Linked DNA regions of Homo sapiens: regions 2 and 3 are each linked to region 1. The links are contacts of gene promoters, found by promoter capture Hi-C in blood cells and fetal thymus (Javierre and others, 2016). All regions are on one chromosome and are shown on one strand. The core of a region is centred on a gene start or on the middle of the fragment in contact, and the rest is flanking DNA. Distances in the headings are between cores, read along the strand shown. Region 1 holds the start of SV2A (synaptic vesicle glycoprotein 2A). Region 2 has its middle 30 kb from the start of LINC02988. Region 3 has its middle 26 kb from the start of ANP32E.

Region 1 (4,303 bases), core at 1,392-3,891:
ACAGTAGATACTCTATGTTAGTTTTCTTCCTTCCTATGATGTTGAAAGTGGGAAAGAAACAGGAAGCAGCAAGGGACAACAGGGGGGTCATACTTAGATGCTGTTGCCCAGCATCCTTGCAAACAGAGTCCCAAGACACCCCTATCTATGTTTCAACTAATTCCAGTAGCTGGGCCCACATTAACTACCTCCAGAAGAACAAGGGAAGATCCAGAAAAGGGGGACCTGGAACCCAAGTAAAGTGGAGGAAAGATGGAAAGCTAAGAAAGAGGTGATGACTGTCCACTGCCACCTTGCTTCAGAATGTCATAGATAGGCCCCCTTTCCACAGATGGGGGTGAGAATGGAAATGACTGTCAAATGCATACATTTCCAACATGAGGTTCTAAGGCCTACAGTTGCATCCCATCCCTCCAGGGCCTCCCTTCCTAATCCCCCTTAATCCTTTCTGCTCCTCCTCCAGGAGTCAAGGAAGAAGGAGTCCACAAACACCGCATTGCGTAGGAGGCGGATGTAGAATAAAGGGGGTTTGGGTGTCCCCCCAAAAAAGACATTCTCCAGAGGAAGGCATGGGATAGCCCCCTTCCTTCATAGGAGCAGAGGAAGCAGGCCTAGATTCTGATCAGAAATCATCCCCCTAAAAATATCCTGCCTCCGGTGCTCCCACCCATCCAGGGCCTTCATTAAAACACACACACACACACACACACGCACACACACACACACGCCCTGGTAGAAGACGGTAAGCAATGCTATGTGGTTCAGAGAGAAGCACTGGCAAGCAGCGCCTTATCCCCTCAGGACAGATGTAAGCAGTGGACCACGGTGACCAGAAGCAGTGACCCCTATGTCACCTTTTCTTCATGGTTCAGGGCCCAACCATCCCCCATGAAAGAGCTGGAACTGCGGAATCCCCTCAGCGCATGGCAATTTGCTAGCTTTCCTCTCTTTCCTAACCAGGATCTCCCCTCCAGCCCTGAAGGAGGCAGGACCCACCAGGAGCCATACTCTATGTTTGTTGACCCTATTTCCCCCTGAGAGGGGCACGTAGGGCAGGGAAGCCTTCCACAACCACAGCAGGATATGAGGTCTCAACAGCCAGCTTCCTCAGGGCCAGCAAGCCCAGGAGGTCAGGAGAGAAAGAAAGAAGACAAATTCTTTGAGCTGGTGAGGAAGTGGTGCTATTTTTAGCCCCCAAAACAGCACAGGGTGGCTAAGCCTGGGGGAGTGAGACAAGACTTGGAGAGGTGGAGGTTAAAGGAGACAAGGTTCAGGGTTACAAGGTCCTAGGCTGGCTGACTTCACCTGACAGGAAAAAATGTGCCCAGGAGATTTTCTGCAGAGGGTGGAGACAGGCAGGGGACTCCAGAGCAAATGCTTTCTTTCAGAACAGCTCATCCAGCCCTGGGTCCAGAACCCCCCACCCTCCCAGTCAAAGCCCCTGACTTTGGGGTCCACCCAGATCCCCAGGCCTTCCTAGCTCAGGTGACAAGGTCATTAAAAAGCAATCACTTATCAAAACGTCCGCGGGGGCGGGGGTAGAATGTGGGAGGTGCGGGAGCACCCCTTCCCCATGACAGCCCGGTCATCGAACTTCAGCCCCCACCCAGGACCATCAAGACTGCGCCTCCCCTCCCCACATCCTACCAAGGTTAGGAAGATAGGAGCACCCACAGTTCTGAGGGATAAAAATGAGGGTGTCAGCTGAGAATGCACACTGAGGAATACGGAGAGGCAGAGAGGGGGACGCAGGGAGAGACCTCCGCATGCACAGACATAGAGACCGCCCCTATCAGCATTTGCAGCGACCCCCCCACACCCCATCTTGCCTCAGCTCCGGAATAAGGGAAAAGCCCCCAGAACTGACTAAATCCCTGCTCTGAGCACCTCCTCCACCCTTGGTCCTGCTGCTAGACAAGTGTCCACCTTCACTCAACATCCCTTCCCCCCACCCCGGAGCAACTGCCGCCAGCCCCCGCCATCCATGCCCCCAACACCTGGCGGCTCTACATCTCTGTCTCCCCAGTATTTCCATTCTTCACTCCCCTTCCCTCCATCCTTCACCTGCCCTTCTTCCCCTGCCCCCCACCCACCCAAGTCCAGGCGTGCACACTGAGGCAGCATCCATTCTCCAGCCCCAGCCAAGGTCATTTATCATTCATCCTGGGGGTGGGGGGACGTCAAGGTGAGGAGGGGATAGGAGTTTGAGGGAACCTCATCCCACCTCACAACCCCACCACCACGTTAATCTCCGAAGGGGATAGTGGGGACTTGGTTAAGGTAGAGAAAAACACCCCTCCTCCCCATTCACCAATATTATACATATGCGTGTGTGTGTGTGTGTCCTGAAGAGCACAACTGAAATAAATGTCCATCCCCAAACCACCACCAACCCACCAACCCCCCTCACCCCTAGAGAGGGGATCGTCACCCTCCCCATAAGCAAAGCATCGGAGGATAAAATGGCTGCAAGGCAAGGCAAAGATGCTTCTGCCAGGGGCGGGGAGGAGGTGAGCGACTGAGAAAGGGGTCTCACCTGGTCTAGGTTCCCCGGGTAAGGAGTCCCGGGCGAGGACGGGGGTCCCGGCCGCGGGCGGAGGCGGCAGCGGCGACTGCTCCCGGCACCAGGGAAGCGGCAATGCAGACCTGCCACCCCCCTTCCACCACTCCAGCCCCGCCTCCGCCCCCCCCTACCCCGCGCCACTGAGCATCGGGAGAGACCATTGGTGGGGAGAGGAGAAAAGAGGATGGGGAGGGAGTCAGGGCACGGGGAGAAATGATGAAAGGGCCGGAGGTTGTCACAAGAACAGCTGGAAATGGCACCCAGCCCTTCCCAGGCCCTTCCTAGTAAAAGATAGAAGGAACTAAAGAAAAAAACAGTGATGTTAGGAAGACAAGTGGGAAGACAGGGAGATGGGGAATGTGGCAGCCCCTTCCTTAGCACCCCAGTCTCAGTATGGCAGGACCCAATAATTTCAGGGGCTTTTGCTGCCTTCAAAACACCTCCCTTGCCTTCTCCACTGCTCTCAAACTCCTTTTTCACAACAGTCTCCCAAATCCAGAGTGCTCCTATTCCAAGTTTACCTGGACATTTTAGAGAAAGCAGAGATAACAAGGTGTGGTTTCTATCCTGAACTGCCAGAGTCAGAGACCCCTGGATTCCTTCCATCTCTTTCCTCACAAAACAGTCCAGGTTACTTATTTACAGTGGACACCTCCTCATCCTGTCCATTCAGTTGGTGGTAGCAGAAGTACTGGGGAAGTTGAGGGATTTTTACAGACCTGACCAACCGGACAGTTCCCCTTCCATTAATTTGCTCCAATGACTCAAAAAGGATCCTCTCAATACCCTTCTCCATTTTCTCTTACTCTCCTCTACCTCCCTCCCCTCCCCTCCACACACTTGTACTTCCCGGGCAGGAAGAAGTAAATTGTTTCAGCTTTTCCCTTCATCTTTCCTTTGCTCTTGCATCAATAACCTGGACTCAGAGATCCAAGACATGCCACTTGGTGACACTTGATGACCATCCCTGCCGAAGGAGTGAGAGGGAATATGGTGATTTGGGGAAATACATCCTGAATGTGTCTATGCCAGATAAGGTCAGGACCTTCCAGACAGCACTGACCTGGGCTTGGACCTGGGTTCTCACTGCTAACAAGCTGTCAACTCTTGGTCAAGTTCTCCACATCTGTGAACTTCAGGTTTCTCATCTGGAAAAGGGGGGCTTGGACTAGATACTGCATCAGGTCCCTCTCAGATCTAATAGCGTGTGATTCTGCCTTACTAAATGTGGAGGCTTCAGAATGCTGATATATATACATGGAGAAGGCTGACAGGCTATGTCCGAAGAGACCACACAGGTAACATTTGCCAGGTTGAATTTACCTCTGACAGGGACACGGGCCTGGGCTTTGCAGACTCCAAAGCTGGATCTTGGAAATAATCATTCATGCCAACAAAGTTCACAATCTTCTGAAATATAAAGCCATAATACATAAATATTAATTTATCATAAATATTTAACTGTCACTCAGACTGAAAACTCATATCTACATGTCTAGTACATTCTCTCCCTGAAGCCAAATCAGAATCATAATGTCAATGTATAAATGCACAATGACATTACTGGAGGATTTGTATCTTTAATGGCATCTGGCCATCTGCAATAAGCAGCCATGCCAATGGGTCCAGAAAACTCTTCTTGGCAACAATCTTCTACCCCCACCTCTTTGCTATTGGCAGCCTTGCCAGCACTCCTGGACTACTCTGAATGTGACGGCTTTCCAGGATGGTGCTTGGACT
Region 2 (4,018 bases), core at 340-2,839, 270 kb after region 1:
CTGAAGAACTAAACAAAAAATAAGAATAATCGGGCCGGGAGCAGTGGTTCATGCCTGTAATCCCAGCAGTTTGGGAGACTGAGACAGGTGGATTACTTGAGGCCAGGAGTTTGCGACCAGCCTGGGCAACATGGTGAAACCCCGTCTCTATTAAAAATACAAAAAATTAGCCAGGCTTGGTGGTGCATGCCTGTAATCCCAGTTTCTGGGGAGGCTGAGGCACGAGAATCATTTGAGTCTGGGAGGCGGAGGTTGCAGTGAGCAACCTGTATCAAAAAAATAATAATTTTTTTCTGTCTCAAAAAATAATAATTTTTTTTTTTGAGACAGAGTCTCGCTCTGTCGCCCAGGCTAGAGTGCAGTGGTGCAACCTCTGCTCACTGCAACCTCCCTGCCTCCCGGGCTCAAGTGATTCTCGTGCCTCAGCCTCCAGAGTAACAGGGACTACAGGCACGCACCACCACGCCTGGCTAATTTTTGTAATTTTAGTAGAGACGGGGTTTCACCATATTGCCCAGGCTGGTCTTGAACTCCAGAGCTCAAGTGATTTGCCCTCCTTGGCCTCCCAAAGTGCTGGTATTACAGACATTAGCCAGCATGCCCGGCCTAAATACATTTGTATAATTAAAAATATTTCATTCTTTATTAACATTTTCAGACCTAGTTTTTTTTATCATTTAGTGAAATTGAAAGTCATAGAGCTCTACAATCGTCAAGCTCTTATTAGCAGACCGTTGGAATGGAAATCTGTTTTAGCTACTGTAACGGTTAATACTGAGTGTCAACTTGATTGGATTGAAGGACGCAAAGTATTGATCCTGGGTGTGTCCGTGAGGGTGTTGCAAAAAGAGATTAACATTTGAGTCAGTGGGCCGGGAACGGCAGATCCACCCTTAATCTGGCACCCTAATCAGCTGCCAGTGCAGCTAGAATATAAGCAGGCAGAAAAATGTGAAAAGAGAGACTGGCCTAGCCTCCCAACCTACATCTTCCTCCCGTGCTGGCTGCTTCCTGCCCTCGAACATCAGACTCCAAGTTCTTCAGTTTTGGAACTCGGACTGGCTCTCCTTACTCCTCAGCCTGCAGATGGCCTATTGTGGGACCTTGTGATCATGTGAGTTAATAAACTCCCCTTTATTCTCCCATTAGTTCTGTCCCTTTAGAGAACCCTGACTAATACAGCTACCCAGAGCGGTTTGTGATCACTGCCCGATCTCTTCTTCAGAGGCTGTGGCATTACTGACTCTGTTTTTACTGGGTTCATCCTATTCTCTTTCTCTCTCTCTCTCTTTTTTTTTCTTTTGAAACAGGGTCGTGCTTTGTCACCAGGCTGGAGTACAGCAACATGATCTCAGCTCACTGCAACCTCTGCCTCCTGAGCTCAAGCAATCCTCCTGTCTCAGCCTCCAGAGTACCTGAGACTACAGGCACGTGCCAACTCACCCTGCTAATTTTGGAGGGGGCACAGGGTGGGATGGATTTGGTAGAGACAGGTTTTACCATGTTGCCCAGGCTGGTCTTGAACTCCTGGGCTCAAGCCATCCACCAGCCTCGGCCTCCCAAAGTGCTGGGATTACAGGTGTGAGCCACCGCACCTGGCCCCATTCTGATTAATGCAATTAGAAAGTCTTCTAATCATACAATAAAGCAAAGTGCAAATAGTTCTTATGCTTTCATCTTTAAAGGGCAACCAAATGATTTAGAATATATATATTTGAAACTATAACCTAGAAAAGTCATATGACTTGGAAGTAAAAAGCTAAAGCAAAACACAAAATCTGGAAATATATCATTCTGATCACAGAGAGAGGAGAGGTATATGTCACCAGATATTAAAAGGATCTTTTTTCAGTTATATAAAAAAGTCAAGCTATTCTGGAATATGCAATTATTTAAAACATCCAGAAGTTTTTCTAAAAAACAAATTATGGTAGAAATTTGTTTATATATTCATTGCTAATTTCTTAGCACTTTAAATCCCTTAGGTGAAGGAAAATTCCTTAGGTTTTTATATTAAGGAACTGTGGCAGGCAGAATAATCCCTCCTCACCCTAAGTCCATGTCCTAATCCTCAGAGTGAATATGTTACCTTACAGGACAAAAGGGATTTTGCAGGTGTGATGAAGTTAAGGATTTTGAGGCGGGGAGATTATCCTGGGCCCAGCGTAATCACAAGAGTCCTTATAAGTAAAAGAGGGAAACGGGAAAGTCAGAGCCAGAGATGCTGGAAGTGGAGGTCAGCGTGGTGCAATAGTTAGCTTTGAGATGAAGCGGGGCCATGAGCCAAGGAATTCGGGCAGCATCTAGAAGCTGGAAAAGCCAAAGAACAGATTCTCCCCTAGAGCCCGCAGAAGGAACACAGCCCTGTGGACACCTTGATTTTAGCACCGTAAGATCCATTTCCATCATCTAACCTCTAAAACTGTAAGAAAATTAATTTGTGTTAAGTGGCTTCATTTGTGGTAATTTGTTATAGCAACAATATGAAACTAATACAGGAGCATTTTATTAGTCTTTTAGTACTTTGACTATCCCGTTCAGTCAGAATTGTGGCATTTAAATAATTACATCTCATATATATATGTATTTTTTTTTTTAGATGGAGTCTTGCCCTGTCGCCCAGGCTGGAGTGCAGTGGGGCGATCTCGGCTCACTGCAAGCTCCGCCTCCTGGGTTCACGCCATTCTCCTGCCTCAGCCTCCCAAGTAGCTGGGACTACAGGCACCCACCACCACGCCGGCTTAATTTTTGTCTTGTTTTTTGTTTTTTTTTTTTTAGTAGAGACAGGGTTTCACCATGTTAGCCAGGATGGTCTCGATCTCCTGACCTCGTGATCCACCCGCCTCGGCCTCCCAAAGTGCTGGGATTACAAGCGTGAGCCACCGTGCCTGTCCAATTACATCTCATATTATCATGTTGGCTATAAAACTGTATGCACCCTTTTTATGGTTGCTAATAAAAATGTTTTTGCTCAAATATACTTGCTATTTACCTTTAAGTGAATAATGTATTCCAGAATTAAAATCCAGGGCAAATATACACACAATAAGGAGCACCACTCTAGCAATACCAGACACATTTAGTAGACATGACACATGCATTTAAATATGTGGAAAATTCTAAGCAGCTACCTATCAAATCTCAAGAGATAAAGTCCAGCAGCCCAACCACACTGGCTGTCAAACAGGCTGAAATTTGATTCAGAAAATAGAATCTGATTCAGAAGACAAAAATGGTAACGTTAACAATGCTATTTTGATGTGACCCTTTAGCAGAAAGCTGACCTTTTCGGCAGTTGTTAAAAAGCAAGGTATGTCTGTAGGAGAGAGCAGAGCTTGATAAATGAAGAAAACAGGTCTATCCCCATAATATAGAGAGAAATCACTGACAATTTAGTCTCATCTTGTTCCACTATCATTTTAACAGTGGAAGCTGCCACTGCGAAAGCTCGCTGCATGGCACCTGTTAGGCCTCATTCTCATCTCGCAGTTCCCAGAATTCCTCTTGATTGCAGCATCCATACACTCTTCATTTTCCTGCAAGGTATTATTTGGACACTCTTCAAGAATCCTTTTTCTTTTTTTTTCCCGAGATGGAGCCTCACTTCGTTGCCCAGGCTGGAGTGTAGCGGCGCAATCTCGGCTCACTGCAACCTCCTCCTCCCGGGTTCAAGCGATTCTCCTGCCTCAGCCCCCCGAGTAGCTAGGACTACAGGCGTGCGCCACCACACCAGCTAATTTTTGTATTTTTAGTAGAGGCGGGGTTTCACCATGTTAGCCAGGCTGGTCTCGAACTCCTGACTTCAAGGGATCCGCCCACCTCTGCCTCCCAAAGTGCTGGGATTACAAGCATGAGCCACCACACCCGACCCTCTTAAGGAATCCTAATTGCAACTTTTAAGGCTTGTAATTCCTCCAAATAACTAAAGCAATAGCACATACTCTAAAAAGAAAACTTTTCTTCCTTTGCCAATATATTGACAAATTTGGAAAAGATAAAATCCCAACATAATGTTCAT
Region 3 (4,603 bases), core at 1,827-4,326, 290 kb after region 1:
GACAATCCAAGAAGCTAAAAAATAACTTCTGTAACAATTGGCCTAAAATGGCCAGGACTTGATCGATAACTGACGGCGTCCAGAATTGTAGTCCCCATTTCCAGCATAGGACCAACCAAGGAAAGCCAAATATGCACCACTAACCAATCACATAAGACGCCCCACTTCTGGTTAGCTCACCTACAGCTTCCTCATGCCAACAGCTTCCAATCAGGGCTTTTTTCCTCTATAAAGCTTTCCCATTTCTCTGCCTGCCTTTGGGTCTCTGCCCAAATGCCAGTGCTGGTAGCTGACTCCCTTGCTAAAGCAAGCTCAGAATAAACAGCCGTTGCTTCTCTCATTTGGTAGGTCTTTTTTCTTTTAAAGACAGAGTCTCACTCTGTCACCCAGGAGTGCAGTGGTGCCATCTCAACTCACTGTAACCTCTGCCTCCCCAGTTCAAGTGATTCTCCTGCCTCAGCCTCCCAAGTAGCTGGGACTACAGGTGCATGCAGGAGCTCAAGACCAGCCTGGCCAACACAGTGAAATCCCATCTCTACTAAAAATACAAAAATTAGCCAGGCGTGGTGGTGGGCGCCTGTAATCCCAGCTACTCGGGAGGCTGAGGCAGAAGAGTCACTTGAACCCGGGAGGCAGAGGTTGCAGTGAGCCGAGATCACGCCACTGCACTCCAGCCTAGGCAACAAGAGTGAATTCCGTCTCAATAAATAAATAAAGTGGCCGGGCGCAGTGGCTCACACCTGCAATCCCAGCACTTTGGGAGGCCAAGACGGGCAGTTAGCAAGGTCAGGAGTTTGAGACCAGCCTGACCAACATGGTGAAACCTCATCTGTACTAAAAATACAAAAATTATCCCAGCGTGGTGGTGCATGCCTGTATTCCCAGCTACTCAGGAGGCTGAGGCAGGAGAATTGCTTGAACCCAGGAGGCGGAGGTTGCAGTGAGCTGAGATCACACCACTGCAGTCCAGCCTGGGTGACAGAGCAAGACTCCATCTCAATAAATAAATAAATAAATAAATAAATAAAATTTAAAAAATTTTAAAAAGACAAAAAGGAGAAATATTATCATCTAATATAAAAAATGATTCGTATAATTATTATATTTAAAAACTGTGGCCGGGCACGGTGGCTCACACCTGCAATCCCAGCACTTTGGGAGGCCAAGGTGGGCGGATCACTTGAGGCCAGGAGTTTGTGACCAGCCTGGCCAACATGGCAAAACCCCACCTCTACTAAAAATATAAACATTAGCCAGGGTGGTGGAATCCCAGCTACCCGGGTGGCTGAGGCACAAAAATTGCTTGACCCTGAGAGGCGGAGGTTGCAGTGAGCCGAGATCACACCACTGCACTCCAGCCTGGGCAACAGAGCGAGACTCTGTCTCAAAAAAAAAAAAAGGAAAGAAAGAAAAATAGAAAGTATGTTAATAGAATAAAGTAATTTACATAGAATCAAAGGAAGCAAGAATTTGGCAGCATTAGTCTAATAGTGCTGAGCGTACTGCTGCCAAAGTCAGACAAACTGAACACAACAAATACTAAAACCTCTAGAAAGAATAGTGTGGATCAGGGTAGGTTCCTCATACTTGTCAAACACATAAAATATCCCTCTAGCACCCTCTCCTCCACTTCTATGCTCACCTGAGAGGATTCTGATTGTGCACTTGGCCTCTCAGTTACCTTTCCTAGAAGGGATACACGAGACCTTCACCTAGCAACATGACTACTGCACTTGAAATGTGGCTAATCCAGGCACTTTGGGAGGCCAAGGAGGGAGGATCACTTGAGCCCAGGAGTTTGAGACCAGCCTGGGCAACATGGTGAGATCCTATCTTTATAAAAAGAAAAAAAAGAAGAAGAAAGTAACTAAATAAAAATAAAACTCTGTTAAAAAAAAAAAGAAAGAAAGAAAAGTGGCTATCTGAATTGAGATTTGCTGTAAGCATAAAATCCATCCCAGATTTGGAAGACTTTGCATGAAAAAAATACAAAACATCTTACTAATGATTTTTTACATTGATTACATGTAGAAAGTATAATATTTTGAATATGTTGGGTTAATTAAAATACATTAAAATTAATTTTACCTGTTTCTTTTTAGTTTTTTAAATATGTCTACTAGAAAATTCTAAATACATCTGTGACTTGCATTTTTATTTTATTTATTTATTTATTTCTTGAGACAGAGTCTCATTCTGTCACCCAGGCTGGAGTAGAGTGGCTCGATCTTGGCTTACTGCAGCCTCTGCCTCCCAGGCACAAACAATTCTCCTACCTCAGCCTCCCGAGTAACTGGGATTACAGACACCCACCACCATGCCTGGCTAATTTTTGTGTTTTTAGTAGAGACAGGGTTTCACCATGTTGGCCAGGCTGGTCTCCAACTCCTGACCTCAGGTGATCCACCCGCCTTGGCCTCCCAAAGTGCTGGGATTATAGGTGAGAGCCACCGCACTCCACCAACTTGCATTTTTGACAGAATTATATGTCTATTAAAGAGCGCCAATTTAGAACACTGAACAATAATACCATAAACAATGTAAATATACATTCTCCCTGTAAATTAATAAATTGACAACTTGATTTAGAAATCTGACTTTGGTGAATTTTCACGGCACAAGTCTGTCCCTCACATATTGATCGATTTTGTATTTACAAACTCAAATACATCTCCTTCTATAGCCCTGCAAAATGAAGGATCACGCCTTCACTGAAGTGAGCAAATCAAAGTTTTGGCATCTTCTGAGCTTTCTGGGCACAAGCTGTCAGCTCAGCCATTTCTCTGCCTGCAATTTCGCTCTTGGTTTATAATCTTGGGTTTAGGCTGTTTTTCAAGGGATAGAGTTGGTATCATTCATATTTGTTTTCCTATCACTTATGTTCCTTAAACAAAGGATTTTAAAAGTTTGTTAAATATTCTACATTTTATGCCTTTGATCATAGCTGTAAGACTGCTTGCCTTGAAAAGGATTTGCACATAATTCTCCATGGTTTTTTTCTTAATATGTTAATTGCAAACCGCTTGTAAAGATTGAGTACATGAAGATCTGAAAGACAGCAGTTATTTACAGTCATGTAAAGTAAAAATGGCAAGTGATATCTAATTAATAGCTAATAACCTAATAATATGGAGTGGAAACTTGATAACCATTACAGCACACTGTATTTTATTATCAAGGACAGAGCCTTAGAGACAGACCACAGAATTGATGTTTCATCATTATGCGATGGCCTACATTATATGACCTCTTATTTGTCCCTCAACTCCAATAGCAACCTCAAGGCTGATATAGAATAGCAGTGGAAAGGAAAATAAATGACACAAAAAGAAAAGTAGGTTTATCATGGGACCAATGTAGTGCTTTGGCCTCATAGCAGAGACCAGATGGTAGCAGCTCCTCTCTCAGCAGGTAGCTCTTCAATATCCTACGGGTTGTAAACAACAAATTCACATCATCTCCACCTGCTAATAAGTATTTTTTAAAATATTGCGGCAACATCGAAACAATGCTGAAAATACAATCCCTCAATATAAGAAAAAAAGTTTTCCTAAATATTTAGTCTGTTAAAAGAAAAAGTCTTTTCTGAGAAATGCTATTACCCACTAGAAAATCTTGGCTTCTTAAAATCCAAGAATATTCTCATCTCTTTTTTTTTTTTTTTTCTTTTTTTGAGACAGAGTCTCACTCTGTTGCCCAGGCCAGAGTGCAGTGGCGCGATCTTGGCTCACTGCAAGCTCCACCTCCCAGGTTCAAGCGATTCTCCTGCCTCAGCCTCCTGAGTAGCTGGGATTACAGGCACGTGCCACCATGCCCGGCTAATTTTTGTATTTTTTAGTAGAGACGAGGTTTCACCATATTGGCCAGGCTGCTCTCCAACTCCTGACCTTGTGATCCACCTGCCTCGGCGTCCCAAAGTGTTGGGATTACAGGCGTGAGCCACAGCGCTCGGCCTCTTTTTTTTAAATAAAGTAAATGGCCCTCATTTTACCCAATTTTGTGACTTTGTAAAAGCCAATGAAAATGCCTGAGAAACTACTGACATTAGTTTTACTGCAGTTAAATATTTGTTAACTTTGCCAGGCGCGGTGTCCCGTGCCTGTAGTCCCAGCTACTTGGGAGGCTGAGGCAGGAGACGGCTTGAGCCCAGGAGTTCTGGGCTGTAGTGTGCTATACCGATCGCGTGTCCGCACTAAGTTCGGCACCAATATGGTGACCTCCCAGGAACAGGGGACCACGAGGTTGCCTAAGGGGAGGGGTAAACTGGCCAAGGTCAGAAATAGAGCAGGTCAAAACTCCCGTGCGGATCAGTAGCAGGATCGTGCTTGTGAATAGCCACTGCACTCCACCCTGGGTAACAGACCCTGTCTCTCTAGATAGATAGATAGATAGATAGATAGATAGATAGATAGATAGATAGATAGAGCGTATATATATACATATGCTAATTCTATAGAAACATGTAACTGTCCTTTGACATTTTAATAAAAATTGTGTATACAAGATTTCAAATTTAATTATTCTCTTCTCCTTCCATAGGATCAAAGACATCTTTTGGTTGCACAAGAAAAAGTGAAGCAAATATTCTCTGAAAAGTGACTGA

The links. Contacts are between HindIII fragments. The CHiCAGO score rates a contact against its expected background, and 5 or more counts as called.
Region 2: a contact is called between a fragment that was not itself captured here and the fragment with the promoter of SV2A in region 1, in 6 of 17 cell types (naive B cells, total B cells, activated CD4 T cells and 3 more). The highest score is 7.7, in naive B cells.
Region 3: a contact is called between a fragment that was not itself captured here and the fragment with the promoter of SV2A in region 1, in 1 of 17 cell types (neutrophils). The highest score is 5.3, in neutrophils.

The regions. Positions count from the first base shown.
Region 1 is chr1:149,915,203-149,919,505 of GRCh38, forward strand. It overlaps SV2A (synaptic vesicle glycoprotein 2A), which reads right to left and starts at 2,642. Exons shown (of 13, transcript NM_014849.5): 1 at 2,537-2,642. RefSeq lists a silencer at 2,486-2,555. The HindIII fragment of the contact is 16,072 bases long and covers 1-4,303 here.
Region 2 is chr1:150,189,069-150,193,086 of GRCh38, forward strand. No RefSeq gene overlaps it. Among named protein-coding and RNA genes, the nearest start is that of LINC02988, 30 kb to the left of the region's middle. The HindIII fragment of the contact is 5,180 bases long and covers 1-4,018 here.
Region 3 is chr1:150,207,554-150,212,156 of GRCh38, forward strand. It overlaps the pseudogene RN7SL480P. Among named protein-coding and RNA genes, the nearest start is that of ANP32E, 26 kb to the right of the region's middle. The HindIII fragment of the contact is 5,688 bases long and covers 233-4,603 here.